7 separate regions of the Homo sapiens genome follow, and all the other regions are linked to region 5. Evidence: promoter capture Hi-C in 16 types of primary human blood cells and fetal thymus (Javierre and others, 2016). All regions are on one chromosome and are shown on one strand. Each heading gives the region's core, a stretch centred on a gene start or on the middle of the fragment in contact. The rest is flanking DNA. Distances are from core to core; before and after follow the strand shown. Region 1 holds the start of TRIM47 (tripartite motif containing 47). Region 2 overlaps PRPSAP1 (phosphoribosyl pyrophosphate synthetase associated protein 1). Region 3 overlaps MRPL38 (mitochondrial ribosomal protein L38). Region 4 overlaps PRPSAP1 (phosphoribosyl pyrophosphate synthetase associated protein 1). Region 5 holds the start of EXOC7 (exocyst complex component 7). Region 6 overlaps QRICH2 (glutamine rich 2). Region 7 overlaps PRPSAP1 (phosphoribosyl pyrophosphate synthetase associated protein 1).

Region 1 (4,194 bases), core at 1,695-4,194, 230 kb after region 5:
CTTGGCCATGTGAGGACACAGTGGGAAGGCAGCCATCTACAACCCAGGAAGCAGCTCTCACTGGAACCCTGACTGTGCTGTCACCGTGATCGCAGACTTCCAGCCTCCAGAACTGTGAGGAGTGTCTGTTGTGTATAAGCCACCCAGTCTCTGGTGTTCTGGGATAGCAGCCCAGACACACTAAGACAGGGGTTCCTGAGTGCCTGGAGAGCCAGCTCCCTCCCCAAGAGGCTGGGTCCCTCCTTCTTTCTTTCTTCTTTTCTTTTCTTTTTTTTTTTTTTTTTTTTTTGAGATGGAGTCTCGCTGTGTCACCGAGGCTGGAGAGTACAGTGGCACAACCTCTGCCTCCTTGGTTCAAGCGATTCTCCTGCCTCAGACTCCCGAGTAGCTGGGAATACAAGTGTGTGCACCACCACGCCCGGCTAATTTTTTTGTATTTTTAGTAGAGATGGGGTTTCGCCATGTTAACCAGGCTGGTCTGGAACTCGTGACCTCAAGTGATCCGCCCGCCTCAGCCTCCCAAAGTCCTGGGATTCCAGGCGTGAGCCACCACACCCGGCACATTTGTGCTCTTTTGCTTGTGTTTTCTCCTCTTTAGCTCTGAACTCATGAAGTGCCTTCTGAACATTTCTAGTCTGGTCTCAGGGGACCTGAGGGTATTTTCCCACCCCCCAAGCCTAGAGAGCTGGGGAAACAGAGGCAGGAATGCAGACCCGGTGGGAGAGGTGGACAAGGGTTTGGGTGTGGGACAAGCAGCAGTGTGTGCTGAGGTTTAGGGAAGGGCCAGGGTCCTGGAACACAGAGAGGGCCAGGAACACCGGGGGACATGCATGACCTCTAGCACATTTGGGCCTGGGCCTCTCTCCAACATTTCCTTACTTATGCACTGTTATAGGTTGAATCCTGTTCCCTGAAAAAGACGTATTCGGATCCTAACCCCCAGGACCTGTGGCTGTGACCTTATTTGGAAATAGAGTATTTTCAGATGTGACTGAGTTAAGATGAGGGCATACTGGAGTAGAGCGTGCCCTAATCCAACAACTGGTGTCCTGATAAGAGGAAATGGGCACCGGGCACAGTGGCTCACGCCTGTAATCCTAGCACTTTGGGAGGCTGAGGCAGGCAGATTACTCGAGCCCAGCAGTTTGAGTGGGCAACAGAGCAAGACTCCCTAAAAAAAAAAAAAAAAAGGACATTTGAACACAGACACAGAGAAAAGGCAAATGACAACAGAGACTGATATTAGAGCGCATCTTACAGCTACAAGCCAAGGAACGCCAAGAATTGCCAGCCAGTACCAGAAGCTGGGACAGACGCCCAGGACAGAGTCTCCCTCAGATCCTGCAGAAGGAAGCCACGCTGCAGCACCTTACTGAAACACAGCATTTCTTTCTATTCCAAATGGAGAGAATACACCAGAGTGGTATGAGCAGTTACCTGTGACTTTGTCACTAACCAAAATTACAGATATCTCTGGGTGCGGTGGCTCATGTCTGTAATCCCAGCACTTTGGGAGGCCGAGGCGGGTGGATCACCTGAAGTCAGCAGTTCGAGACCAGCTTGGCCAACATGGTGAAACCCCGTCTCTACTAAAAATACAAAAATTAGCCAAATGTGGTGGCGGGCGCCTGTAATCCCAGCTACTCAAGAGTCCGAGGAGGGAGAATCGCTTGAACCCAGGAGACAGAGGTTGCAGTGAGCTGAGATTGCGCCACTGCACTCCAGCCTGGGCGACAAGAGCGAAACTCCATCTAAAAAAATAAAAATAAAAAAACATTATTTGGAATTTTCAATGCGAAATATGTCTGTTCTCCCCAGCTTGTTAATTTATTATTTATTTATATCGGCATGGACTCATAGATGTTTATTTTACACTTTGGGTTATAATCAGTGCTACTTTACTTATTTTGTTGTCATTCTGGTGTAGTGTTTTAACTTAACATTATTGAGATATAACTCATACAATAAAACGCACCACTTTAAGTGCATAATTAGATGAGCTTTAAATACTTCCAGTTGGGGAACCCCCAACCCCACCACAGGTGTCCCCAGTGTCCAGGGGCCAGAACTACATTCCTCAGACAAGGGACTTAGGGAATGACGTCAACTTCCCATTTCAGGTCTAGAAAAGTCCAAGTTCCCTACTTGGGGTAAAGAGTCGCTAAAGGAGCTGGGCGCTGTGGCTCACGCCTGTAATCCCAGCACTTTGGGAGGCCGAGGCAGGTGGATCACCTGAGGTCACGAGTTCAAGACCAGCCTGGACAAGGTGAAACTCCGTCTCTACAAAAAAATACAAAAATTTGCCTGGTGTGGTGGCAAGCGCCTATAATTCCAGCTACTTGGGAGGCTAAGGCAGGAGAATCACTTGAATCCGGGAGGCGGAGGTTGCAGTGAGCCGAGATAGCGCCCCTGCACTCCAGCCTGGGCGACAAGAGAGGAACTCTGTCTCAAAAAAAAAAAAAAAAAGAGTCGCTAAGGGGCAAAAACATATGTACATCAGCAGTTATTTTTCTCTGCAGTCAGCAGCTCAGGAACTTTGCTAAGGGTGCCAGGGAGGGGTCGAGCGCAAAGGTGCAGGCATGACACAGCTAGACGCGCCCAGCCCCTGCGGAGCGCTGGCCTGGCCCAGAAGGACCAGAGGGATGGAGGCTGAGTCCTTCCCATTCCTTCCACTGTACCTCTCGCGTTCTCCGCCCGCGCTCACTCAGTTTCACACCCTTTCAGCAGCGCCCTTCCTTAGGACCACGCGGACTCCCCTGGGGGTCGCGCGGGCTCGGAGGCCTCCCTGCGTTGTCTGGGCGGGGACTGGGAGTCCGCGGGCCCGCAGGCGGGCGGTGCTGCGGGGCGGGCCGAGCTGGGGGCGGGCGGGGGCCGGAGCCCTGGCCTAGGTCCCAGGGGGAGGTGCCGCGGCGCGAACGGCCCGGGTCCCTCCCAGGCCGGAGCACAATCGGCGGCGCCCTGGGCGGCCGCGGAGTCATGGACGGCAGTGGACCCTTCAGCTGCCCCATCTGCCTAGAGCCACTCCGGGAGCCGGTGACGCTGCCCTGCGGCCACAACTTCTGTCTCGCCTGCCTGGGCGCGCTCTGGCCGCATCGTGGCGCGAGTGGAGCCGGCGGACCCGGAGGCGCGGCCCGCTGCCCGCTGTGCCAGGAGCCCTTCCCCGACGGCCTTCAGCTCCGCAAGAACCACACGCTGTCCGAGCTGCTGCAGCTCCGCCAGGGCTCGGGCCCCGGGTCCGGCCCCGGCCCGGCCCCTGCCCTGGCCCCGGAGCCCTCGGCACCCAGCGCGCTGCCCAGTGTCCCGGAGCCGTCGGCCCCCTGCGCTCCCGAGCCGTGGCCCGCGGGCGAAGAGCCAGTGCGCTGCGACGCGTGCCCCGAGGGCGCGGCCCTGCCCGCCGCGCTGTCCTGCCTCTCCTGCCTCGCCTCCTTTTGCCCCGCGCACCTGGGCCCGCACGAGCGCAGCCCCGCCCTCCGCGGACACCGCCTGGTGCCGCCGCTGCGCCGGCTAGAGGAGAGCCTGTGCCCGCGCCACCTACGGCCGCTCGAGCGCTACTGCCGCGCGGAGCGCGTGTGTCTGTGCGAGGCCTGCGCCGCACAGGAGCACCGCGGCCACGAGCTGGTGCCGCTGGAGCAGGAGCGCGCGCTTCAGGAGGTGGGCTCCGGGGGCACACTCGGGTGAGCCGGGGCTGGTGACCGACCGCGCGCGAGCGGGCCGAGGACCTTGGACCCCCCAGTCTTCCCGGGTTGGGTCTTAATCTCCTCCTCTAACCTGAGGATCTTTGCGGTCCCTTCCAGCCTTGACAAGGTCATCTGCTGGCGGTGATGGAGATGGGAAGGGAGGAAGGAGGGACGTGAGAACAGGACAAGGACGCGAAGAGCGGGCAGGGGACCTGAAGCCGGGCCGGGGTCTATGGGGGTGTAGGCGGGAGGGAGCCGGGTTAGGCCCGCGGGGTTCCGGTAGCGTGGCTGCTGCTCCCGCCCGGAGGGTCACGCCGGTCTCAGCTCAGATTTGCCCTGGGCTGAGGCAGCAGCTTTCGATGGGTGTGGCAGGCGGCAGGAGGGCGGCAGAGGGCGACCGGGCACACAGATTCTCTGTCCAGCTGTTCCGGGGGCCAGTGGTGGGAGCATGTGAGCCGCGGCCTCTACCTCCCGCCCCCAGTTTCCTTTGGCCTCCAGCCCGGTCTTGGCGCCTCTG
Region 2 (4,104 bases), core at 752-3,251, 210 kb before region 5:
AGTCTCTACTTTAAGCACCAATTAAATCAGGAAAAGATGATGGGCCTGGAGTTATTGTCTTCAAGTTCCTGATTTTGAGGAAACTCTGATTATGTCAGTAGTGCAGTTATCTGATAGTAAGGTTACACTGTCCAAATAAGGTGACTTTGGAAGAAAATAACATAAAGCCATCTCATGATCTGGCAGCCTTTCGCTGTTTCGCTTTCTGCAGAGCGGCATTCCTTCTGCATGTCTCTGTCAGTCTCTGTGAGAGTGGGGTTTCTATCCACACAGCACTGCGGTGCAGCTTCTCCGTGTTGGCAGAATCTTCCATGCTCTGCTGGTTCGTTGTCTTTCCAGCTGTGCTGTGCAGTGCAATGTGCTGGCTGCTGAGCTCATGAGACACGGCCCGTCTCAACTGAGAAGTGCTGTGCGTATAAAACACACACCAAGTAGAGAAGACTTGATAGGAAAAAAGTGTAAGGCTGGGTGCGGTGGCTCATGCCTATAATCCTAGCACTTTGGGAGGCTGAGGTAGGAGGATTGTTTGCTTCCAGTTTGAAATGAGCCGGGGCAACATAGCAAGATCCCCTCTGAGAAAAAAAAGTGTAAAACATCTCATTAATTTTTATATCAGGTTGGGCGTGGTGGCTCAAGCTTGTAATCCCAGCACTTTGGGAGGCTGAGGCGGGTGGATCACCTGAGGTCAGGAGTTCGAGACCAGCCTGACCAACGTGGAGAAACCCCATCTCTACTAAAAATACAAAACTCAGCTGGGTGTGGTGGCGCATGCCTATAATCCCAGCTACTCGGGAGGCTGAGGCAGAATTGCTTGAACCTGGGAGGCGGAGGTTGCAGTGAGCCAAGATCGCGTCATTGCACTCCAGCCTGGGCAACAAGAGCAAAACTCCGTCTCAAAAAATACATACATACATACATACATACATACATTTTTATATCAGTTACATGTTGAAATTATAATATTTTGGGAATTGCATAAAATAAAATGTATTAATTTCATCTGTTTTTAATGTGGCTACTAGAAAATTCAAAGTAACATGTATGGCATGCCTTCTATTTCTTTTGGCCAATGCTGCTGTTTCTGAGAGATTGCAGGTTCATTGAGGGGGAATTTGCATGGTTTGTTTGTTTTTTGTCTGTATAGTGGTTTTGCCACCATTTCCAGGGAATTAGGTTGTGATTACATTTCTCTAGTGATACATGAATGACTGAGATCTTGTAATTTGTTTTGTTTTGCTAGTGATGATGGCCAAAGAGAAGCCACCGATAACTGTAGTTGGAGATGTTGGAGGCCGCATCGCAATCATCGTGGTATGGTTATATGTCATCCATGTGCAGAGGTGGCACTCCTGGCTCTTGGTCAGTAGGTTGTCCACTCTGGGACTGTATTTCTAGGAACGATGATCCGAATGGATCCATGTATCCTTTCTCACCCAAACTCCCTTGTGCCAAGTGGCAGAAACCTGTATCCAGGTGAACATACATTAAAGTATAACCTACAGATAGGAAATGAGCACAGTACTCCCGTGAGAAAATTCAGCACCTTCACCTTCATCATGTGGATTCTAGGTTCTTTAAACCAGCTCACCTAATCATGCTTGAGCGTTAGGGCCGAAAGATGAACTGAAGATGAGCTGTTCCGTTTTCACAAGTAAGAATGGGTGTCCCCGTGCAGACTCGTTCTGCATGTTGACATACTTTTTTTCCCAGCTCTAAATATCTGCTGGCTAGTGGGTCATGAGTCCTTTGCAGTAGCACACTTTATTTCAGTTTTCTTCTCATGTCACAGTCTATTTGAAAAAAAAATAAATGGAACGCTGGCTATGTGGGATTCACCAGAAACGTGAGACAGGAAAATGAGTGTTGGCAATCCTCAGCTCCAGCCGTAATGTCACAGGTGCTTGACTGCGCCCGCCTCTGACAGACACACAAGGTACTGTCAGGTGCTTCTGTTGCCATTTCTGGATGCTCGTTCTTTGACCCAGGCACACAGCTCTGATTTTCCATCAGAAATCCTCTGAAACTGAGTGCAGAAGAGAGTAGAGTGGTGTGTGCATTGACAGTATGGGCTAGAGGGTGTTTCTTTCCTACCAACTCACTCTGTTCTCCTCCCAGGATGACATTATTGACGATGTGGAGAGTTTTGTTGCTGCCGCGGAGATCCTGAAAGAGAGAGGCGCCTATAAGATCTATGTTATGGCCACCCACGGCATCCTGTCTGCAGAGGCCCCTCGCCTGATTGAGGAGTCCTCCGTAGACGAGGTCAGGCTGCTTCTAAATCTTGAGCCAAGATTTACTGCTGTGTTTTCTGGGAATAATAAAATGATTCAGTCAATACTAAATTGCTTAATCTGTCTATAGCTTTTCTAGCTTTTGCTGGCTAGCAGTTCGTTGGGACAGATACATGTTTAGGAATACAGATAGTCCACGACTTACCATGGTTCAACTTAGAAGTTTTTGACTTTATGATGATGCAAAACCATTGCAATTACGATGTAATGTATAGTATTCGATAAATTACTTGAGACACTTTATTTTAAAATAATCGCTTTTATTATAAAATGAAAGCCTTTGCCCTAGATGATTTTGCCACCTGCAGTCTAATGTAACTGTTCTGGGCATGTTTAAGGTAGGGCTAGGCCAAGTTAATGATGTTTAGTAGGTTAGGCGTATTAAATGCTTTTTTTTTTTTTTGAGATGGAATCTTGCTCTGTTGCCTAGGCTGGGAGTGCAGTGTGGCAATCTCGGCTCACTGCAACCTCTGCCTCCCGGGTTCAAACGATTCTCCTGTCTCAGTCTCCCAAGTAACTGGGATTACACGCGCCGGCCACCAGGCCTAATTTTTGTGTTTTTCTTAGAAACGGGGTTTCACCATGTTGGCCAGGCTGGTCTCAAACTCCTGACCTCAGGTGATCCACCTGCCTCGGCCTCCCAAAGTGCTAGGATTACAAGCATGAGCCACTGTGCCCGGCCTAAATGCATTTTCTACTTAAAATATTTTCAACTTATAATGATGCGTTTATCCAGACATAACCCTGTCATAAGTTGAGAGTTATGTTGAGGGTCTGTATATGTCTATTTGCATAACGGTTTGCTTGGGTACTTTAATTTGACACCCTAGGAGCATTTCTCTTGAGGCTGGAATTCTTCCCTTATGATCTGAGAGTTTTGCATAGCACTGGGGCTCACTGTGTTTCTGCATGGAGACCATGCCATTCCTAAGATTTTTGTCTTGTGTTCTGAGGCCATGTAACTTTTCCTTTGCATAAAATTAGTTAATTTTGGTTTATAAAAACTATACTCGGTGGAACAAGGTTTTGTAGTTTGGAACTTAGGCTGTGGGAACTCAATGTTAGATAAGCTTTTCTGTGTAACCAGCTTGGAGAACAGACTTCAGTAACAGCGTTTGTTTTCCATCACTGTGTGACTAGGTGGTGGTGACGAATACTGTCCCTCATGAGGTTCAGAAGCTGCAATGTCCCAAGATAAAGACTGTGGATATCAGTTTGATTCTTTCTGAAGCCATTCGGAGAATCCACAATGGAGAGTCCATGGCCTACCTTTTCCGAAACATCACTGTGGATGACTAGCTTTCACGAGGGTCTCGACCCTGGACCTCCTGAGGGAAACATGGAAAAAGCAGTGCCATGAGTGATACAGTGTTTCCTTGCAAGGGAGGACTCGAAACAGCCTGGAGTTAGATATCTTCTTTTGCCCGGATTGATGGGGAGGAGGGATTAAAAGAGTCAGGAAGAAGACAGAGCTAATGGATAAATATCATAACATGGCCTTACATGTCTGCTGTCATCAGCCCTGTTCCTTAAAAGTTCTAGCTGCTTTCTTAAAAATAATCTGAAAATCTTATTGATACTAAAGAGGAGTTAAAGGCACATAAAGTCTTAACTCTATAATGTTCATTTAGTTGTTTCAGCTCCAGGGAAATGGAGGTATTGATGTTGAACCTGGTTAGGGAAGCTGAGCGCCTGTGGCCCTATTACTATCCAGTTGGCCTCTCCCAAATCAACTTCAAGTCTTTTATAGAGAATCGTATTTTTCTTTCAGAAATTGTTATGCCTACAGCCATTGAAAAATGAAGCATTCATG
Region 3 (3,967 bases), core at 409-2,908, 200 kb after region 5:
GCTACTTAGGAGGCTGAGGCAGGAGGATCACTTGAGACCAGGAGTTTTGAGACCAGCCTGAGCAACATAATGAGATCCCATCTCTCAGATTTTTTAAATTAGCTACCATGGCTGGGCGCAGTGGCTCACACTACTGTAATCCCAACACTGTGGGAGGCTGAGGCAGGCAGATCACTTGAGCCCAAGAGTTCATACCAGCCTGGGCAATGTGGCAAAACCCTGTCTCTACAAAAAATACAAAAATTAGCCAGATGAGATGGTGTACACTTGTAGCCCCAGCTACTCAGGAGACTGAGTTGGGGAGGTTAAGGCTGCAGTGAGTCATGACCCTGTTTTTCCCACACATCTTCCCACTCCAGATCCCAAAGAGAAGATTGATATTGGGCTGCCTCCACCCAAAGTCTCCCGGACCCAACAGCTACTGGAACGGAAACAGGCCATCCAGGAGCTTCGGGCCAATGTGGAAGAGGAGCGGGCTGCCCGCCTCCGCACAGGTAAGCCTTCTCAGGGGAGGGGCCATCCCAGAGTTGGGGTACAGGGTGTGTCCCTGCCCCCCCCACCCCCGTATCCCAACTGGCCTTATTCCTGTCTAGCCAGTGTCCCGCTGGATGCCGTGCGGGCCGAGTGGGAGAGGACCTGTGGCCCCTACCACAAGCAGCGTCTGGCTGAGTATTACGGCCTCTACCGAGACCTGTTCCACGGTGCCACCTTTGTGCCCCGAGTCCCCCTGCACGTGGCCTACGCTGTGGGTGAGGATGACCTGATGCCTGTGTACTGTGGCAATGAGGTGACTCCAACCGAGGTAACCACTCACTTGTGCCCCTCCTCCCTGCCCTGTGCAAACACAGACACATCCCATCTCAGTGTCACAGACACTCCTGGGTTTGGAATTTTGTTGTTCTCTGTCTCTTTGATTTCCTGGAAGACGACACCATGACAATTTCAAAGAAAATAGAACAAAATGAAGGAAAAAGAGGCTCTGTCTTAGCACATTCCTGTGACCAGCCTGCTGTCTGTGGTGTGCCCTCCTGGCCCGGCCTTGGCACATGTTCGTTTTTGTGGTTGTTGCCTGGACAGGCAACTCTGCAGGGCTGCTTCTCTACGCATCCCTTTGCCTGCCTGCCTGTGCCAGGGGTTGTCAAGGGCTTTTGGGTCAGAGTGGGCACCCCTTTCTCCAAGGCTCCCTGCAACAGCTGGCCTGTCCCTGGTGGGGCTGACAGCTTCCTTCTCACCCTGCCAGGCTGCCCAAGCGCCAGAGGTGACCTATGAGGCAGAAGAGGGCTCCTTGTGGACGTTGCTACTCACTAGCTTGGGTGGGTGTCTGGGGCTCACCAGGCCTCCTGCCCCGCTCACCTCCTATGAGCCAGGGCCCTGGGGGGCTGGGGGAGGGGCCAGGTGGAGATCTCCAGCGCTGGCTCCTAACAAGGGAGGGGGTGGCAGGGCCGTGGTCGGCTGGGCCGTGGTCAGCAGGTGTGTTTTTGTGCAGATGGGCACCTGCTGGAGCCAGATGCTGAGTACCTCCACTGGCTGCTGTGAGTACTGGAGTACTGGGGGTAGGGGGTGCTGCCCAGGCGGGAAGAGGAGCTGGGAGCCTGGACTGAGCTGCTCCTGAGTTTCATGGACTACCCATGGGACCTTGAATTCACCTGCCACCTCTGCCTCCTGAGGGTGTTAGGGGCCCTGGGATCCACGTGTCTACTTGAAGACAGCTACAGGAGACAAAGTTTGCAGTAGGCCTCGGTCAGTCCCCACAAGCCTCCTCATCTTTTCTTTTCTTTTTTTTTTTTTTTTTTGAGACAGGGTCTCACTCTGTCCCCCAGGCTGGAGTACAGTGGTGCAATCATGGCTAATTGCAGCCGCTAACTCCTGGGCTCAGGTGCTCTTCCCACCTCAGTCTCCTGAGTAGCTGGGACTACAGGTGCAAACCACTACACCCAGCTAATTTTTGTATTTTTTTATAGAGACAGGGTTTCACCATGTTGCCCAGGCTGGTCTCCTGAGCTCAAGCGATCTGCCCGCCTCCGCCTCCCAAAGTGCTAGGATTATAAGCGTGAGCCACCATGCCTGGGCCCTTCGTCTCTAAACTCATTTCTTCACCTGTAAAACTGGGATAATGGCACCACATGCCTTACTCAGCGTGAGGTGGACTGTGACAGTCACGTGGGAGAAGGAGCGGGAGAGGCCTAGCAGCTGTGGCGTCCCCCAGGTGCTCCTTGAACCACTGGGCGCTCCTTCCCTGGGCCCAGACTGGGCGGCCTTCCATCTTGGTAGCTTTTGGCTCTGAACACCAGGCCAGGGGGCAGAGGTCAGGCCAGTGACCCCAACTTTGAGCCTTCTGGTTAACTGGGGACAGTGACTGGGAGGCTGGTTTCCGTCATTTTTATTCAACTGTTACCAGCCTATGCGGCAGGACCCTCTGGGGATTTGTGCCTGAGGCGTTGGCCGCCCCTGTGCCAGGCTGGGCACACACTCCCTGACGAGGTCCTGGAGACTTCAGGACGCAGAGGGAAAAGCAGCCAAAAGTGGCCTGGCTTTCTAGCCTCAGTGACTGTGGCGGACCCACCGGCTCCCGGGGCCTGGAAGCGGCTGCATGGCCTTGCTGTCAAGCTGATGCTCTCTGGAGCCCTGTCCCCCACTCGGAGCTCCTCCAGCCCGCTTCCCGTATTTGCAGCATGTCCCGGCGTTCACAGAGCTTGGCTGCCTCCTCTGTCCCAGGAGAGAGATGCTTAGAGCTGTCCTCCCAGGGAGTCATGTCAGCCTCTAGGGTGTGCATGGAGCTGAGGGGACACTCCTGCTGCCTCCCTGGAGTGGTAATTAACCGGGACTTTCCTCCTCCCAGAACCAACATCCCGGGTAACCGGGTGGCTGAAGGACAGGTGACGTGTCCCTACCTCCCCCCCTTCCCTGCCCGAGGCTCCGGCATCCACCGTCTTGCCTTCCTGCTCTTCAAGCAGGACCAGCCGATTGACTTCTCTGAGGACGCACGCCCCTCACCCTGGTAATCTACACCACCCACACATAACCCGGCCTCAGGCCAGCTCCCCTGGAACGGTCACTCTTGCTCAGTTCTCTCTTGACCTCAGCCTTGAGACTGGCAGAAGAGCAGGATAGGGTGCTAGCAGACTCCCAGGGGCCTCTCAGGGTTACCTGTTGGGGTGGCGGGGTGAGGGGCTCTGGTGCCCCACTCCACACTCTCATACGCTCTCTATCTTCTCATAGCTATCAGCTGGCCCAGCGGACCTTCCGCACTTTTGATTTCTACAAGAAACACCAAGAAACCATGACTCCAGCCGGCTTGTCCTTCTTCCAGTGCCGCTGGGATGACTCCGTCACCTACATCTTCCACCAGCTTCTGGGTAAGGGCCATGGGGCTGGGGCACTGGGTGGGCCTGAGCTCCCAGGCCTCGCCTGCCCTGCCAGGGAGAAGCTTTGTTAGGGGAAGGCTGCGGCAGGTCCCTGGTGGGCAGGCCTCAGCCTGAGGGGGCGCAGGCCAGCAGACCACCCCGTACCCCTCACTCTTCTTGCAGACATGCGGGAGCCGGTGTTTGAGTTCGTGCGGCCGCCCCCTTACCACCCCAAGCAGAAGCGCTTCCCCCACCGGCAGCCCCTGCGCTACCTGGACCGGTACAGGGACAGTCATGAGCCCACCTATGGCATCTACTAAGGAGCCAGAGTGTGCGCATTTCAGAGCATGGGATTGATCGGCAGCAAGAGTAAAGACACAGCTCCAGAGGCCCACACTGTGGGGTCTGGGCCCTGCCTTAGGCAGCCCCCCTCTTTGGCCCCCTCCCGTCAGGCCCAGGGCTTGGAGTGAAAGTGACTCTCAGGTGGTGGGGTGGGGAATGTGAATAAACATGATTTCTTGCCGGGCTTGGTGGCTCACACCTGTAATTCCAACACTGGGAGGCTGAGAAGGGAGGGTCGCTTGAGCCCAGGAGTTCAAGACCAGCTGGCAATATAATGAGAC
Region 4 (3,826 bases), core at 785-3,284, 240 kb before region 5:
TTATTTTTTGAGATGGAGTTTCGCTCCTGTTGCCGAGGCTGGAGTGCGATGGTGTGATCTCGGCTCACGGCAACCTCTGCCTCCTGGATTCTGGCAATTCTCCTGTCTCAGCCTCCTGAGTAGCTGGGATTATAGACGCTCGCCACCACACCCAGCTAATTTTTGTATTTTTAGTAGAGATGGGGTTTTATTATATTAGTTAGGCTGGTCTCGAACTCCTGACCTCAGGTGATCCGCCCACCTCAGCTTCCCAAAGTGCTGGGATTGCAGACGTGAGCCACCGCACCCGGCCTGGAATATTTTTAAATAGATTATCTTACATCATATCATTTCACTTGTAAAAAGAGTAATGCTTACTAATCAGGACTTAAAACCTCACACTACTATTAATTCCTTAATATTATGTAGTATCTAGTCTTTGTCCATATTTCTCTGATTATTTTTTAAAATGGCTTTTTTTTTTTTTGAGACGGAGTTTTGCTCTTGTTACCCAGGCGGGAGTGCAATGGCGCGATCTCGGCTCACCACAACCTCCGCCTCCCGGGTTCAAGCAATTCTCCTGCCTCAGCCTCCCTAGTAGCTGAGATTACAGGCATGCTCCACCATGCCCAGCTGATTTTGTATTTTAGACGGGGTTTCTCCATGTTGGTCAGGCTGGTCTCAAACTCCCGACCTCAGGTGATCCGCCCGCCTTGGCCTCCCAAAGTGCTGGGATTACAGGCATCAGCCACCACGCCTGGCCAAAAATGGCTTTTTACACTTGGTTTATTCTAATTAGGATCCAAACAAGATCCACACCACATTTGGTCAGAGTGCTGAAGCCTCTTTCCTTCTCTATGCTTTTGATAATTGAGGCATTTATCTCTGGTGTGTGTTATTGAAATCATTGCTTGTAACCAAGTATTTGGAAGTGATTTTCCAAGAAAATTACTATTCAAAGAACAACGCGCACCAGACATTAACCATGGGTTGTGAGCTCTGTCTGGTAAAGCAGTATGTTACAACGTGGTGAGCTGCTTATGGAGTGACAGCAGAATTTTAGTTTAATGAATTAGATTTTCTGAATTATTTTTTGGAAAGAATGGCAGCTTAATTATTTGAGTCTTTTTATTAGACATATGCATATGAACTGGAATTTTTTTAAAAAGAGTAATCTTAATTTCCCTTTTTTGTTCTTTTTGATCTATAGGCGCCTTGGTGCTGAATTGGGGAAGTCTGTTGTATATCAAGAGACCAATGGAGGTAAGTTAAAATTATTTCTTTTTTTTAAAATTATTTTTTATTTATTTAGTTTTTTTGAGACAGAGCCTCACTCTGTCGCCCAGGCTGGAGTGCAGTGGCATGATCTTGGCTCACTGCAACCTCTGCCTCCCAGGTTCAAGCAATTCTCCTGCCTCAGCCTGCTGAGTAGCTGGGATTACAGACGCCCGCCACCACACCCGGCTAATTTTTGTATTTTTAGTAGAGATGGGGTTTCACCCTGTTGGCCAGGCTGGTCTCAAACTCCTGACCTCAGGGGACCCTATTGCCTCGGCCTCCCAAAGTGCTAGGATTACAGGCATGACCACTGTGCCCAGCCTTTATTTATTTATTTATTTATTTATTTATTTTTATTAAGATGGGGTCTCACTATGTTGGCCAGGCTGGTCTTGAACTTCTGAGCTCAAGCAGTCTTCCCACCGCAGCTTCCCAAAGTGCTGGGATTACAGGCGTGAGCCACCGCACTCGGCTTCCACCACGTTATTTCTAAAATGCAAATATTTTTTCTTACTACTGCTTCCTTACTCCTACCCTGTAGGCTGGGGTCCAGTCTTTTTAGCAATCACATGGGGCCCTTTGGGAATCCAGATTCTACCCCTTTACCTGCCTCATCTTTGATCCACCCATTACCACATCTTGTGTGCTCTGACTTTGGAATACATCTTATATCTGACCCTTTCTCACAACCTCTGCTGCTCCCACTTAAGTCCAGCCTGCCGTTTGCTGCTTGCTAGACACCTTCCAAAACAGACGCCATGGCCTCCCCGTGGCCACTCCTGCCCTGCCACGGTTTTCTTCACACAGTAGCCAGCAGTCTTTTTAAAACAAGTAGATGAAACCCTTCCCAACCTTAAATCTTCCAGTGGCTTTCCTGTCACTGCTAGAATAAATTCCAGACTCTTCAGCGAGTAAGAAATGAAATCCAGAGTCCTGCAAGTCCTGGCCCCTTGGCTCCCTGACCTCCTGTCTCTCTCTTTCCCCTCACTCTGTCTGCTTTCTTTTTTTTTTTTTTTTTTTTTTTTTTTTGACGGAGTCTTGCTCTGTCACCCAGGCTGGAGTGCAGTGGCATGATCTTGGCTCACTGCAACCTCCACCTCCCAGGTTCAAGCAATCCTCTTGCCTCAGCCTCCCAAGTAGCTGGGATTACAGGCATACGCCACCAAACCCGGCTAATTTTGTATTTTTAGCAGAGACGGGGGTTTTGCCATGTTGGTCAGGCTGGTCTTGAACTCCTGACCTCAGGTGATCCACCCGTCTTGGCCTCCCAAAGTGTTGGGATTACAGGCATGAGCCACCGCGCCCGGCCCACTCTGTCTGCTTTCTAAGTGGACTAACTGCCTGCCCCTCTGCTTGGCACACTCGGATCCCACATCTTCCCATGTTCCCAAACCCCCTTCTGCGCTGCTCGTTCTGGATTGCAGTGAGGCCCTTTTTTCCAGCCCCATTGTTCTTTCTCCTTCGTCATGGCTAGCGTCTCTGGCATATTGGGCCCGGAGGGTTTGCTGGCCTTGTTGTTGTATCATCTCTCCTGGGTCAGTCTTTGTCCCTTCTTCCAAGTCCTGCATTTTGGGGTTCCCAGTACAGTTCCTGACATGGAGGAGGCTTCAGCATTTGTTGAAAAAATAATAAGGATGTCGCCCGGGCTGGAGTGCAGTGGTGCAATCTCAGCTTACTGCAGCCTCTGCCTCCCAGGTTCGAGCAATTCTCCTGCCTCAGCCTCCCAAAGTGCTGGGATTACAGGCGGAGCCACCGCGCCCGGCCAAACTCCCTTTTTCAGTGCACAACCAAAAATCAGAAAGCCACTGTAAAACCCAGTGAACATTTAGCATGTTGTTTAACAACTTTTCACAAGCTGACCCTGACTTTCCGGAAGTGAAATGAATATGGCAGAGTTTATCTGAAGATCCACAGTCTAGAAACGGAACTACTGCTCTTTTGAGGGGCGCCATCTCAGTGGCATCACTGGAAGGTCCAGATTGCCTGCCACACTGGTAATCAATTATGGGGGGGTCAGGTGCCAACAGATGTCTGGCTTTAAGGGATTTAAGTCCATGCTGAAAGGTGGAAAGGGAGAAGAGGACATAGAAACAAATTTGTCTTTTCAGAGCACAAGGCTTTTGTGTGCTGAGGTGGCCATGTGTGTCAAAGTCAGGGAGCCCCTCTTCCTGGGAGCCGAGAGGAAGTCTCTCAAAACTAGAAGGGAAAGGTGCTTTCCCCACATCAATCCAGCTTCGGAGACATTCTATTCATGACATATGCTCCTTTCCCCAGAACAACAATGAAGCGTTCTGTGTGCTAACAACATAGCTTAGAAAACAAAAATTCTGCGTTTTTATAAAACTTGATAAAAAATAGTATTTCAAACTGTACAGTCACCAGAAGTACACAGTTATCCAAAATGCACACGCTTCCCTCAGCATCTCCAGCAGGTGCCTGGTGTGTTCAGGCATCTCCACTTCCCATAGAGTCATTCCCCTCCTCGCCAGTGTCAGCTTTTTCCTTTTTCCCTTGGGTACCTTCTCTCCCTTCTTTGCAGTGGCCTTTTTAGGCCTGGGCTCTGGCTTTG
Region 5 (3,880 bases), core at 37-2,536:
TTCCTGACACAGGAATCAGCCTTTTATCTCCCCCACCTACAACAGGATTGAAATTGTCCTCTTGCCTGAGGGAAGGCTGCCCATCCCTCTCCAGGCTCTGTGCACCCACTTCCTCCTCCTCCTCCTCTTCGGGTGACTATGGGTGGAGTGAGCGCTTGGGAACCCTAGAGCTTGGGTTCTTCCTTCTCTCCTTCTCTCCTTAGGCCGGGAGCAGGGGCTCACGCCTGTAATCTCAGGACTTTGGAAGGCCAAGGCGGGTGGATCACTTGAGGTCAGGAGTTCGAGACTAGCCTGGGCAACATGGCGAAACCCTGTCTCTACTAATAATACAAAAAAATTAGCCGGGCGTGTTGGCAGCCGCCTGTAATCCCAGCTACTCGGGACGCTGAGGCACGAGAATCACTTGAACCCGGGAGGCAGAGACTGCAATGAGCCAAGATCGTGCCACTTGCACTCCAGCCTGGGCGACAGAGTGAGACTCTCTCTCAAAAGAAAAGAAAGGAAAAAAAAAGCTTGGTGTCCCCCCTGCCCGCCCCAAACCTTCTCATCTACCAGCACATGCCTCCTTGTCTATCTTCCGGGTGTCTGGACACTGAGGCCACAGAAGGACTGAACCAAGCTGGTCGGCCTTGTCCTTTCTCAAGGCTGGGGGCCAGAGGCAGGGTGGGCAGGGACGGGTTAGAGGAAGGAGTAACTCGAGGTTTTGCAGGAGCTGGGTCTGCAACCACAACATCCAGCCCCGCAGGGAAGTTGATCCAGGGGCGCCCCCCACCCCGTCCCCTGGAGCTGCAGTTGGACGCTGGGTCTGGGCCTGGAGCTCCGGAGCAGCCCCGCCAGCCCACAGGATACGTTTTTGCGTAATGCAGGGTGGAAGGCGGAAACAAGTACACAAGCCCCTGGTTCATTACATGGACACACGTTAGGCATCTACTGTGTCACCTGCTCCGTGCGGGGCTTTGTGGGAAACGCAATTGGCCTTGGTGCCTGCCCATAGAATGCGACCTGGGGAAAGGAATTCGTCGCCTTCCCCAGCAGTCTTTATCAAAAGGGTCGGTCTTTCAACGAAAACAGCAAGTGAGCTCTAAGTGTCCTGCCAGCCGCGGGACATAAGGCCGATCGAAAACCTCTGCTGAGGCAAGGAACCCGCGTCGAGGTCCCTTGCAGCATCCGAATACACTTCTCTTCCCAGCCACGCTCAAAATGGCCGTCGGTCCGTTCTTGGGCTCCGCGCAGGCGCACTTCAGCCTGCGATTCCCAACATGGCTCCGCCCAGGCGTCCCGGGGCGGGACCAAGAGCGGAAGTGGGTGTGACGGGGACGGGGGCCCGGTGGGCCCGCGGAGGAAAGATACTGGGGAGTGGGAGCCGCGGGGTTCAGAGCGATGATTCCCCCACAGGAGGCATCCGCTCGACGGCGGGAGATTGAGGACAAGCTGAAGCAGGTGGGCGTGGGCCTGGGGAGGCTGGGGAGGAGGTGAGGGAAAGGGGCCAACAGCGGGGCCTGATTGTCTACTCATGGAGGAGGCAGGGGTGGGAGGGAGCGCACCCAGCGAGGAGATGGGGTTGGGGGCTAGGCCGTGGGGTTGGGACGCAGTGGTCTCCTTTAGCTTCTGGTTTCTGGTGATGTCCTCCCCTTGCCTGCCCCCAGGAGGAGGAGACTCTGTCCTTCATCCGAGACAGCCTGGAGAAGAGCGACCAGCTCACTAAGAACATGGTGAGTCTCCCCGCAGCTGGGGGAGAGGGCAGGCCTCCGGACCCTGGGGGAGAGCCTTGCGACCTGGCGGTTCCGGTTCCTGCGGCCTGGAGTTCTGGAATGGGCAGCGACGGAGGCAGTGTGTGGGTTTATCTAGCAACAGTTTGGCATCTCTCCTGCCTAGCCCCCTCCCCATGTTCCGTACCCTCACTGAGGAGGCTGCACTTCCCACTGGCCTGGACTTGCTGCTTTCTGTCTAAGCTCGCCATTCTTCCTTCTCTCCTTCTGCAAACACTCAGTGAGTCTGACCAGTTGGGCTAGGTACTGGGCATATGTCATTGTCAGTGGACTCTCTGCCCAGGAGGTTGGCACTTTGAGATTCCTGAGGGCAGAGAAGACTCAGCCTTCACTCCAGAGGACTTTAGGGAAAGAAAGAGCTCTAAAGTCAGGCAGATCTGGGATCTAGTCCTTGCCCTTCTGCTTAAATGTGCGGCTCCTGATAGGTAACTGGTGTCAGCGAATTCATCTGCTAAAACAGAGACTGTGCCAGCCTCCCAGTGTGTCTGTGAAGGTCATATGCGCTAATGCATGCGACTGCATCTTGCACAGTGCCTGGTATACAATAGGTGCTCAATAAGTGAGTTTCCTTCTTTATTCCTAGGGGAGACTGGAAAAGCACAAAGTGAGTAAATACAAACTTGTATTTGCATTTAGTCACACAATAATAAAGTCCTAGTCCTTTTCTAAAAATTTTAATTTTTAAATTTTTTTTTTTAGAGGCAGAGTCTGGCTGTGTTGTGCAGGCTAGAGTGCAGTGGCATGACTGTAGCTCACTGCAGTCTCTAACTCCTGGGCTCAGGCAGTCCTCCTGCCTCGGCCTCCTAGCAGCTGGGACTGTAGGCACACACCACCACGCCTTGCTAATTGTGTGTGTGTGTGTGTGTGTGTGTGTGTGTGTGTGTGTCTGTGTGTGTAGACAGGGTCTCACTGTGTTGTCCAGGCTTGTCTTGAACTCCTAGTCTCAAGCTAACCTCCCGCCTCAGCCTCCCAAATTCTGGGTATTACAGGCATGAACCATCACGCCCAGCCTCTAGTCCTTATTCAATGAGTTTCATCCTTAGAGAGGGTTTTGAAGATACAGCAATGCATTTGAGGCTACTCTGTATGAAACTACTTCCAGTCCGGTTTAGGAATGCTTCAGAGAGAACAGAAGTTGAGATTTGGCTTCAAAGGGTGGAAGGGAAGCCATCTTGGGCTGATTATTTTAAGAAGAATTAATTTGATGCTTGGTTTGCCTTCAAATAAAATTTCAACCAATTTGTCTTAGACCACCTACTATATGCCAGGCACATGATAGGTGCTGAAGATACAGTGGGGAACAGGTACACCCTGTTCCTTCGCTTGTGGAGTTTATTGTCTAGAAAACCAGAGAAAAGGCAGGAAATGCCGAAGGTGGGTGTGTAGAAGCAGTGCTGGGACCACTGTGAGTCCCAAGATCAAGAGGCTTCCCTCCCGCAGGTGTCTATCTTATCATCCTTTGAGAGCCGCCTTATGAAGCTGGAGAACTCCATCATCCCTGTGCACAAGCAGACGGAGAATCTGCAGCGGCTGCAGGAGAATGTTGAGAAGACGCTGTCCTGCCTGGACCATGTCATCAGCTACTACCATGTGGCCAGTGACACTGAGAAGATCATCAGAGAGGGGTGAGTGAGTGAGGCCCAGAGGGTCAATTCCTAATGCCTCCTGGGCCAACAGGAGGGTTGGTCTGTAATCCCAACAATTTGGGAGGCTGAGGTGGGAGGATCGCTTGAGACTAGGAGTTCAAGACCAGTCTGGACAACACAGTGAGACGCCTTTTAAGCCCTAGGCCTTAAAAGGCAGTGGGGGGATAGAATATATTTGAGCCTGGAGTCCCCTGTATTAATTTTCTTTTTCCCAAATACTGTGTCCTTAGTCCTTCTTCATCCCCCATGCCCCAGCCTGACCTGGCTCTTTTCTTTCCCAGCCCCACAGGTAGGCTGGAAGAGTACCTGGGAAGCATGGCCAAGATTCAGAAGGCAGTGGAGTATTTCCAGGACAACAGCCCAGACAGCCCGGAACTCAACAAAGTGGTAAGGGGTCCGCAGAATAACGTGAGAAGCTTGGGGATATCAGTCTCTGCCCTGGTCTCATGAGGGACATGGAGCCAG
Region 6 (3,840 bases), core at 889-3,388, 190 kb before region 5:
AGAGACGGGGTTTCACCATGTTGGTCAGGCTGGTCTTGAACTCCTGACCTCATGATCCACCCACATCGGACTCCCAAAGTGCTGGGATTACAGGCGTGAGCCACTGCGCCCAGCCTCAGTTTTGTTTTTTCTTGTCACAGACAGGAGGGTAAATCCAGCCCCTGTTAACTTCATCTTGGCTGGAAATGGCAGTGGTTCATTCTTCTTTTTCATGGATTCATAGCATCTACTGTATTGGTGACCAGAAATATCTCAGTCCCTTATTGATGATCTATTTTATCAAGATGCTGCAGACCCCATCATTGTATGTATAGCTTGGCATCCTTTGGTGAGGATTCATAGAGAAAATTCCTGTCTATGGAGTTTCTGGGTCCATGGGTTTGCATGTTTACATTTTATTTATTTATTTCTTTTTGAGATGGTGTCTCGCTCTGTTGCACAGGCTGGAGTGCAGTGGCGTGATCTCGGCTCACTGCATCCTCTGCCTTTTGGGTTCAAGTGATTCTCCTGAGTAGCTGGGATTACAGGTGTGCAGTACCACACCTGGCTAATATTTTATATTTTTAGTAGAGACCAGGTTTCACCATGTTGGCCAAGCTGGTCTTGAACTCCTGACCTCAAATGATCCACCTGCCTTGGTCTCCCAAAATGCTGGGATGACAGGCGTGAGCCACTGTGCCCAGCCTATACATTTTAAATATATGGTTTACATGCATTCCAGTATACACTTTTATCAGCAGCAATGGGTCAACAATGGAGCAAACTTTATATTTTATTTTATTTTATTTATTTATTTTTTGAGATGGAGTCTTGCTCTGTCACCCAGGCTGAAGTGCAGTGGTGCGATCTCAGCTCACTGTAACCTCTGCCTCCTGGGTTCAGGCGATTCTCATGACTTGTCCTCCCAAGTAGCTGGGACGACAGGCACGTGCCACCACACCCAGCTAATTTTATTTATTTATTTATTTATTTATTTATTTATTTGTTTTTAGTAGAGACGGGGTTTCATCATGTTGGCCAGGATGGTCTCAATCTCTTGACCTTGTGATCTGCCCACCTCGGCCTCCCAAAGTGCTGGGATTACAGGCATGAGCCACCGTGCCAGACCCAGACTTTATATTTTAAACTTAATAAATTACTTATGTCCTTTATTTAAAGGCTAAGCAAAAGTCCAGAGAGATCACTTGTATTTTGCAGTTTTCCCCATCTTTTATGAAGAAAAATTACACTTTTTTTTTTTTTTTTGAGAAGGAGTCTCACTCTGTCACCCAGGCTGGAGTGCAATGGTGCAATCTCGGCTCACTGCAACCTCCACCTCCCGGGTTCAAGCGATTCTCCTGCCTCAGTCTCCTGAGTAGCTGGGATTACAGGCATGCACTATCACACCCAGCTAATTTTTGTATTTTCAGTAGAGATGGGGTTTTGCCATGTTGGCCAGGCAGGTCTCAAAGTCCTGACCTCAAATGATCCACCCGCCTTGGCCTCCCAAAGTGCTGGGACTATAAGCATAAGCCACCGCACCTGGCCACAAAAATTACATATTTTTGTACATGCCATTTTCAAATATGCAGAGTCTCAAAAATATGGAGACCTAGCCTCCCAGAACGTCAGTGTGTTTCTTTTCCTTTTCTTTTTTTTGAGATGGAGTTTCACTCTTGTCACCCAGGCTGGAGCACAATGGCACAATCTCACGGCAACCTCCATCTCCCAGGTTCAAGCAATTCTCCTGCCTCAGCTTCCTGAGTAGCTGAGATTACAGACACATGCCACCACGCCTGGCTAATTTTGTATTTTTAGTAGAGATAGGGTTTCACCATATTGGTCAGGCTGGTCTCGAACTCCTGATCTCAAGTAATCCACCCGCCTCGGCCTCCCATCAGTGTGTTTCTTTATGTCAAGCTTAGCTTTTAGGACCAGAGGGCTTTTTTCTCCAGGGGCCCTAAATCATCCTAGTCAGAACTTCCAGATTTCCTTTCTTCCCACTCTGATAGTGAATATTTTGACTGTTATTGATTTCCTTCTTCCTCTCCAACCAGGGCTCAGAAACACTTATGGGATTTTCTAAGCACGGAGGGTTCACTTCCTTAACATCACCTGAAGGGACTCTAAGCGGAGACTCTACCAAGCAACCAAGTATTGAGCAGGCTCTGGATTCTGCCAGTGGTCTTGGCCCGGATCGGACTGCATCAGGATCTGGTGGCACAGCACACCCCTCTGATGGGGTTTCCAGTAGGGAACAAAGCAAGGTCCCCTCTGGTACTGGGAGACAGCAGCAGCCGAGGGCCCGTGATGAAGCTGGCGTGCCACGACTCCATCAGTCTTCTACATTCCAATTCAAATCAGACTCAGATCGTCACAGGAGTAGAGAGAAGCTTACCTCGACACAACCAAGAAGAAATGCACGTCCTGGTCCAGTTCAACAGGACTTACCCTTGGCCAGAGACCAGCCCAGTAGTGTGCCCGCTAGCCAGAGTCAGGTCCATCTAAGGCCAGATCGTCGTGGGTTAGAACCAACTGGCATGAATCAGCCTGGATTAGTGCCTGCTAGCACTTACCCACATGGTGTGGTACCCCTCAGCATGGGTCAGCTTGGTGTGCCACCACCTGAAATGGATGATCGGGAATTGATACCATTTGTCGTGGATGAGCAACGTATGTTGCCACCATCAGTACCTGGCAGAGACCAGCAAGGATTGGAACTACCTAGCACAGACCAACATGGTCTGGTTTCAGTCAGTGCATATCAGCATGGTATGACATTTCCTGGCACAGACCAACGCAGTATGGAACCACTTGGCATGGATCAGCGTGGATGTGTAATATCAGGCATGGGTCAGCAAGGACTAGTACCCCCTGGTATAGACCAGCAAGGATTGACATTGCCTGTCGTCGATCAACATGGCCTGGTTCTACCTTTTACAGACCAGCATGGTTTGGTATCACCTGGTTTGATGCCAATTAGTGCAGATCAGCAAGGTTTTGTGCAGCCCAGTTTGGAAGCAACTGGCTTCATACAACCTGGCACAGAGCAGCATGATTTGATCCAGTCTGGCAGATTTCAGCGTGCTTTGGTGCAGCGTGGTGCATATCAGCCTGGCTTGGTCCAACCTGGTGCAGATCAGCGTGGTTTGGTCCGGCCTGGAATGGATCAGTCTGGTTTGGCCCAACCTGGTGCAGATCAGCGTGGTTTGGTCTGGCCTGGAATGGATCAGTCTGGTTTGGCCCAACCTGGTAGAGATCAGCATGGTTTGATCCAGCCTGGCACAGGTCAGCATGATTTGGTCCAATCTGGCACAGGTCAGGGTGTCTTGGTACAGCCTGGTGTAGATCAGCCTGGCATGGTCCAACCTGGCAGATTTCAGCGTGCTTTGGTGCAGCCTGGTGCATATCAGCCTGGCTTGGTCCAACCTGGTGCAGATCAGATTGATGTGGTGCAACCTGGTGCAGATCAGCATGGTTTGGTACAATCTGGTGCAGATCAGAGTGATTTGGCTCAACCTGGTGCAGTTCAGCATGGTTTGGTCCAACCTGGAGTAGATCAGCGTGGTTTGGCACAACCTCGTGCAGATCATCAGCGTGGTTTGGTCCCACCTGGTGCAGATCAGCGTGGTTTGGTCCAACCTGGTGCAGATCAGCATGGTTTGGTCCAACCTGGAGTGGATCAGCATGGTTTGGCACAACCTGGTGAAGTTCAGCGTAGTTTGGTGCAACCTGGTATAGTTCAGCGTGGTTTGGTGCAACCTGGTGCAGTTCAGCGTGGTTTGGTGCAACCTGGTGCAGTTCAGCGTGGTTTGGTCCAACCTGGAGTGGATCAGCGTGGTTTGGTTCAACCTGGTGCAG
Region 7 (4,179 bases), core at 1,532-4,031, 230 kb before region 5:
TTTCCTAGTTGGACTTAGCTCATACCTCAGATATCCAATCTGGGATCTGAGTGTTTGTTTCCTTTTGAACAGTTTTGGCTAAGGATATGTGAGCTCGGTTAGAAATTCTTTTTTTTCCCTTATTCGCTTTGTCCTACTTTAGAATACCATTGCTTTAGTGTCTTCTCTTCTCTGTCATCTGTCACATATTTTCTATTTCATCTTGTCATCGCTAAATTCTTAGCTGGCAGTCTTGGCATTCTTATGTGATCTTTTGATCTTCAGGTCTAGATTTCTATATCTGCTTTGTTAGCTAAATTCCATTTTTGTTCATAGTATTCAAGCTGGATTTTCTTTTACTCCCTCTCCCCCACCCTTGCCTTTCTACATAGTGGCTCATTTTCATTGCTTTATTCTCCTTGTGTGGCGGGGGCACGCTTTCTGGCCTGTAAATCAATGTAATATTTTACAATTGGGTTTCTATTCATCTGATGTCTGTTCTAAAACTTTAACGTATATTTGGGTCCTCGGAAAGAAATGTATGGTCCTCCCTCAATGTCCTTATAGGATTGGTTCCAGGAACCCATCTCCCGCTTCCCCGGCTCCTCAGCAGATACAAAAACCCAAAGATACTCAAGTCTTCCATATAAAATGCCATAGTATTTGCATATAACCAACACAGTCATCTGTAGATTATTTATAAATACCTAATACCATATAAACACTATATAAATTGTTGTTATGCTGTCTTGTTTAGGGAATAATGATGAGAAAAAAGTTTCATACCTGCTCAGTACAGACACAACCATTGTAGGCCTAACTACCTTTTCAGTCTGTGTTTCGTTGAATCCACACGTGGAACCCATAGATCCAGATGGTCAACTGTATGTGAATTTCATCCTCTCCAAAAAACTATAGTGTTTCTGGAAAGAACAAGTAATACTGGTTCTACACCCTGGAAGTTTTGCTGTGACCTTTGACCATTTGCAATGTGTTTATATATATGTACCTTTTCCTCTTCAGTACTCTTGATTATAAGAGTATCTCTTCATTGTTTTTCTATAAGAATACTTGAAACATTCTTTGTTACATACAGAAATTATTCTAAGCTTCAATATCTTTGTGTTATATGAGTTTCTTTTCTTCTAATATGTATATTACTTTGCGTTTGTGTTCTTGCTACTTTTTGCCTTCGCTACAGTTCTTTATCCTTTCTTTTAAGATTCTGTAATCAAGGCCTTACTGTTTTTTCCATCTCTTCGGTATTAATTCCATATTCATATTTTTGCTTCTGCCACATTATTCTTTTCTCAATTTTCTGGACCAAGCCAAAAGTCAATAATTCCCACTTTCTTAGCTTTAGTTCTTTGTCCATGTGGAAGGTTGTAGCCTTCTCTACATTAAGGCTTTATTAAGGTTAACAATCAAGCCTGTGACTGCAGTGCTTAATCACAGTACCCCGTCTTCAGTCTGCTGGTAGGAAGCAGGAGTTGAGCATCTAGTTTAGGTCCACTGTAGCCATTTACCTGTAGGGGTGAACTTTGTAATTTTTTGTTTTAAAATTTCAGGTTTAACTCACATTATCACTATGGATCTTCATCAAAAGGAAATACAAGGCTTTTTCAGCTTTCCTGTGGACAACCTTAGAGCCTCACCTTTCCTGCTTCAGTATATCCAGGAAGAAGTGAGGAACCACCAGCAAACACCCCATTGTCCTCAAAAGAGATCTTATTTAGTTTTTCTCTGGTATCAGATTTCGTTACTGGAAGGCACATCAAATGAGCTCTCCCTTAAGTCACAATGCCTGAGGCAGCAGACAGGGTCAGCTTTAGTCGTGGACGATCATAGCTTTAAAAGACACTAAAAACAGATTTTTTTTCTACGTATCTTTAGCAATTTGCTTATGTTTTCTAAAATGAATGTTTTAAGAATTATTTTTAAAAAATTCTTGACGTAGGAGTGCTTTTTCCAGTGATGTTAATTGATAAATATTGAAAAATCTAAAACTTGTGACTAAAATTCTAGCATATTTGATGACTAGTTTGGATCATTATAAGAGGGAAAACTTGAATACCAGCATCCAGGTGTTATTTTCTGATAACTTTTCAGTATTTTCTATTTTTCCTTCAAATCTAGATTCCAAATTACAGAAATGCAGTCATTGTAGCTAAGTCTCCTGATGCTGCAAAGAGGTAAGTAAGCTAGACATGGGTCCTGATCCCTCCTGAGTGCTCCCGAAGTCAGAATGAGCTGCTTTGGAATCCAGAGGCTGTCACTCGTGGCCTTTGAAAGCCCACTGGCTCTCATGTTAACCCCTCCATCGTTGTCATGTCCCATGCCACACACAGCTTTATCTCCAGCCTCCAGACAGCACACATGATCGCTGAGTTGCTCAGCTTTCCTCTGGGAAAACAAAGTTCCTTCAAGTTCTCAGAGAAAGGAAAGCAATGAGGCTATGAGCATTTTTCAAGCAATGGTTTTTTTTTTTGTTTTTTTTTTGAAATGGAGTTTCATTCTGTCACCTAGGCTGGAGTGCAATGGCGCGATCTCGGCTCACTGCAACCTCCGCCTCCTGGGTTCAAGCAGCTCTCCTGCCTCAGCCTCCCCAGTAGCTGGGATTACAGGCGCCTGTCACCACTCCTGGCTAGTTTTTTGTATTTTTAGTAGAGATGGGGTTTCACCATGTTCATCAGACTAGTCTTGAACTCCTGACCTCAAGTGATCTGTCTGCCTTGGTCTCCCAAAGTGCTGGGTTTACAGGCGTAAGCCACTGTGCCCGGCCCAGGCAATGGTTTTTAACGTTGTTCTTTCTTCTGAAGATGACTATCAGAATATTGGACAAAGGATAGAATCAAAATTATCTAGAATCAGGGCCAGGCGGGGTGGCTCACGCCTGTAATTCCAGCACTTTGGGAGGCCAAAGCGGGAGATCGCTTGAGCCCAGGGGTTCAAGACCAGCCTGGGCAACATAGACCCCGTCTCTACAAAATACAAAAAATAGCCAGTTGTGGCAACACATGCCTGTGGTCCCCGCTACTCGGGAGGTTGAGGTGGGAGGATCACCTGAGCCTCAGGAGGTTGAGGCTGCAGTGAGCCATGTTGACGCCACTGCACTCCAGCCTGGGTGACAGTGAGACCTTGTCTCAAAAAAAAAAAAAAATGTCTAGAATCAGATACAATCCCAAACCCTAACTCACGTGCCCTTTGAGTCATTTACATGCTGGCCTGGGCCTCACATTCTCATTTATATAAATAATGCCTTTGTATGTCCCTGAAACGTTAAATATTTTCATTTTATGGTTAAAAAATGATGCCGTAGTGATGCGTGGGATTTCTTCCTGTCAGTTTCACCATTTCCCTTTGTCCTTCTAGGGCCCAGTCCTATGCGGAGAGACTGCGTCTGGGTTTGGCCGTCATTCACGGGGAAGCTCAGTGCACGGAACTGGACATGGACGATGGTCGTCACTCCCCGCCTATGGTCAAAAATGCTACTGTGCACCCAGGCCTGGAGTTGCCATGTAAGATGAGCTCTGTGTTTTTATTTTATTTGTAAATTGAAGAAAGTTTTTTTTTGTTGGTTTTGTTGGTTTTGTTGTTGTTGTTTTGTTTTGTTTTGTTTTGTTTTTGAGATGGAGTCTCACTCTGTCACCCAGGCTAGAGTGCAGTGGCGTGATCTTGGCTGACTGCAACCTCTGCCTCCTGGGTTCAAGCAATTCTCCTGCCTCAGCCTCGTGAGTGGCAAAGATTACAGGTGTGTGCCACCACGCCCAGCTAATTTTTGTATTTTTAGTAGAGACAGGGTTTCACCATGTTGGCCAGGCTGGTCTCAAACTCCAGACCTCGTGATCTGCTCCAGACCTGGTGATCTGCTCGCCTCAGCCTCCCAGAGTGCTGGGATTACAGGCATGAGCCACTGCACCTGGCCCTGAAGAAAGTTTTAAGTAGTATGAATGGCTAGGAGTTATCGACTATGTAGATATATGCTGTCTTGTTGTTTTTTAATAATGGAATGGTATTTGCTATCCTCCGCCTTTTTTTTTTTTTTTTTGAGAAAGGATCTCCCCCTGTTGCTCTGTACAGTGGCACAGTCATGGCTCACTGCAGCCTTGACCGGGGCGCAAGTGATTCTCCCACCTCCGCCTCCTGGGTAGCTGGGACTGTAGGGGTACACTACCATGCCTGGATAGTTTTCTGTTCCTT

Evidence for each region. Contacts are between HindIII fragments. The CHiCAGO score rates a contact against its expected background, and 5 or more counts as called.
Region 1: the fragment with the promoter of TRIM47 here is called in contact with the fragment with the promoter of EXOC7 in region 5 in 14 of 17 cell types (non-activated CD4 T cells, erythroblasts, naive CD8 T cells and 11 more); the score reaches 11.5 in non-activated CD4 T cells.
Region 2: a fragment that was not itself captured here is called in contact with the fragment with the promoter of EXOC7 in region 5 in 7 of 17 cell types (M1 macrophages, M2 macrophages, M0 macrophages and 4 more); the score reaches 8.5 in M1 macrophages.
Region 3: a fragment that was not itself captured here is called in contact with the fragment with the promoter of EXOC7 in region 5 in 3 of 17 cell types (endothelial precursors, erythroblasts and M1 macrophages); the score reaches 6.4 in endothelial precursors.
Region 4: a fragment that was not itself captured here is called in contact with the fragment with the promoter of EXOC7 in region 5 in 2 of 17 cell types (activated CD4 T cells and M2 macrophages); the score reaches 6.0 in activated CD4 T cells.
Region 6: a fragment that was not itself captured here is called in contact with the fragment with the promoter of EXOC7 in region 5 in 17 of 17 cell types (activated CD4 T cells, naive CD8 T cells, naive CD4 T cells and 14 more); the score reaches 22.2 in activated CD4 T cells.
Region 7: a contact is called between a fragment that was not itself captured here and the fragment with the promoter of EXOC7 in region 5, in 13 of 17 cell types (M1 macrophages, M2 macrophages, M0 macrophages and 10 more). The highest score is 13.2, in M1 macrophages.

The regions. Positions count from the first base shown.
Region 1 is chr17:75,877,331-75,881,524 of GRCh38, reverse strand. It overlaps TRIM47 (tripartite motif containing 47), which reads left to right and starts at 2,944. Exons shown (of 6, transcript NM_033452.3): 1 at 2,944-3,651. The coding sequence starts at 2,977. It also overlaps a transcript of TRIM65 not described here. RefSeq lists silencers at 2,760-3,109, 3,240-3,619, 3,630-3,809 and enhancers at 2,654-3,569, 3,570-4,194. The HindIII fragment of the contact is 18,500 bases long and covers 1-4,194 here.
Region 2 is chr17:76,311,028-76,315,131 of GRCh38, reverse strand. It overlaps PRPSAP1 (phosphoribosyl pyrophosphate synthetase associated protein 1), which reads left to right. Exons shown (of 10, transcript NM_002766.3): 8 at 1,241-1,311; 9 at 2,116-2,262; 10 at 3,432-4,104. The coding sequence ends at 3,590. Among named protein-coding and RNA genes, the nearest start is that of QRICH2, 4.8 kb to the right of the region's middle. The HindIII fragment of the contact is 2,725 bases long and covers 639-3,363 here.
Region 3 is chr17:75,898,547-75,902,513 of GRCh38, reverse strand. It overlaps MRPL38 (mitochondrial ribosomal protein L38), which reads left to right. Exons shown (of 9, transcript NM_032478.4): 3 at 360-494; 4 at 594-802; 5 at 1,241-1,313; 6 at 1,487-1,532; 7 at 2,840-2,998; 8 at 3,220-3,356; 9 at 3,528-3,870. The coding sequence ends at 3,664. Among named protein-coding and RNA genes, the nearest start is that of TRIM65, 3.6 kb to the right of the region's middle. The HindIII fragment of the contact is 3,542 bases long and covers 1-3,429 here.
Region 4 is chr17:76,345,945-76,349,770 of GRCh38, reverse strand. It overlaps PRPSAP1 (phosphoribosyl pyrophosphate synthetase associated protein 1), which reads left to right. Exons shown (of 10, transcript NM_002766.3): 2 at 1,190-1,242. It also overlaps the pseudogene HMGN2P43. Among named protein-coding and RNA genes, the nearest start is that of PRPSAP1, 6.1 kb to the left of the region's middle. The HindIII fragment of the contact is 8,373 bases long and covers 1-3,826 here.
Region 5 is chr17:76,101,193-76,105,072 of GRCh38, reverse strand. It overlaps EXOC7 (exocyst complex component 7), which reads left to right and starts at 1,286. Exons shown (of 19, transcript NM_001013839.4): 1 at 1,286-1,440; 2 at 1,647-1,712; 3 at 3,210-3,394; 4 at 3,697-3,802. The coding sequence starts at 1,381. The HindIII fragment of the contact is 3,319 bases long and covers 515-3,833 here.
Region 6 is chr17:76,292,218-76,296,057 of GRCh38, reverse strand. QRICH2 (glutamine rich 2) reads left to right here. Exons shown (of 19, transcript NM_001388453.1): 4 at 2,037-3,840. Among named protein-coding and RNA genes, the nearest start is that of QRICH2, 14 kb to the left of the region's middle. The HindIII fragment of the contact is 473 bases long and covers 1,902-2,374 here.
Region 7 is chr17:76,328,035-76,332,213 of GRCh38, reverse strand. It overlaps PRPSAP1 (phosphoribosyl pyrophosphate synthetase associated protein 1), which reads left to right. Exons shown (of 10, transcript NM_002766.3): 5 at 1,548-1,663; 6 at 2,116-2,171; 7 at 3,352-3,497. Among named protein-coding and RNA genes, the nearest start is that of QRICH2, 22 kb to the right of the region's middle. The HindIII fragment of the contact is 3,381 bases long and covers 1,091-4,179 here.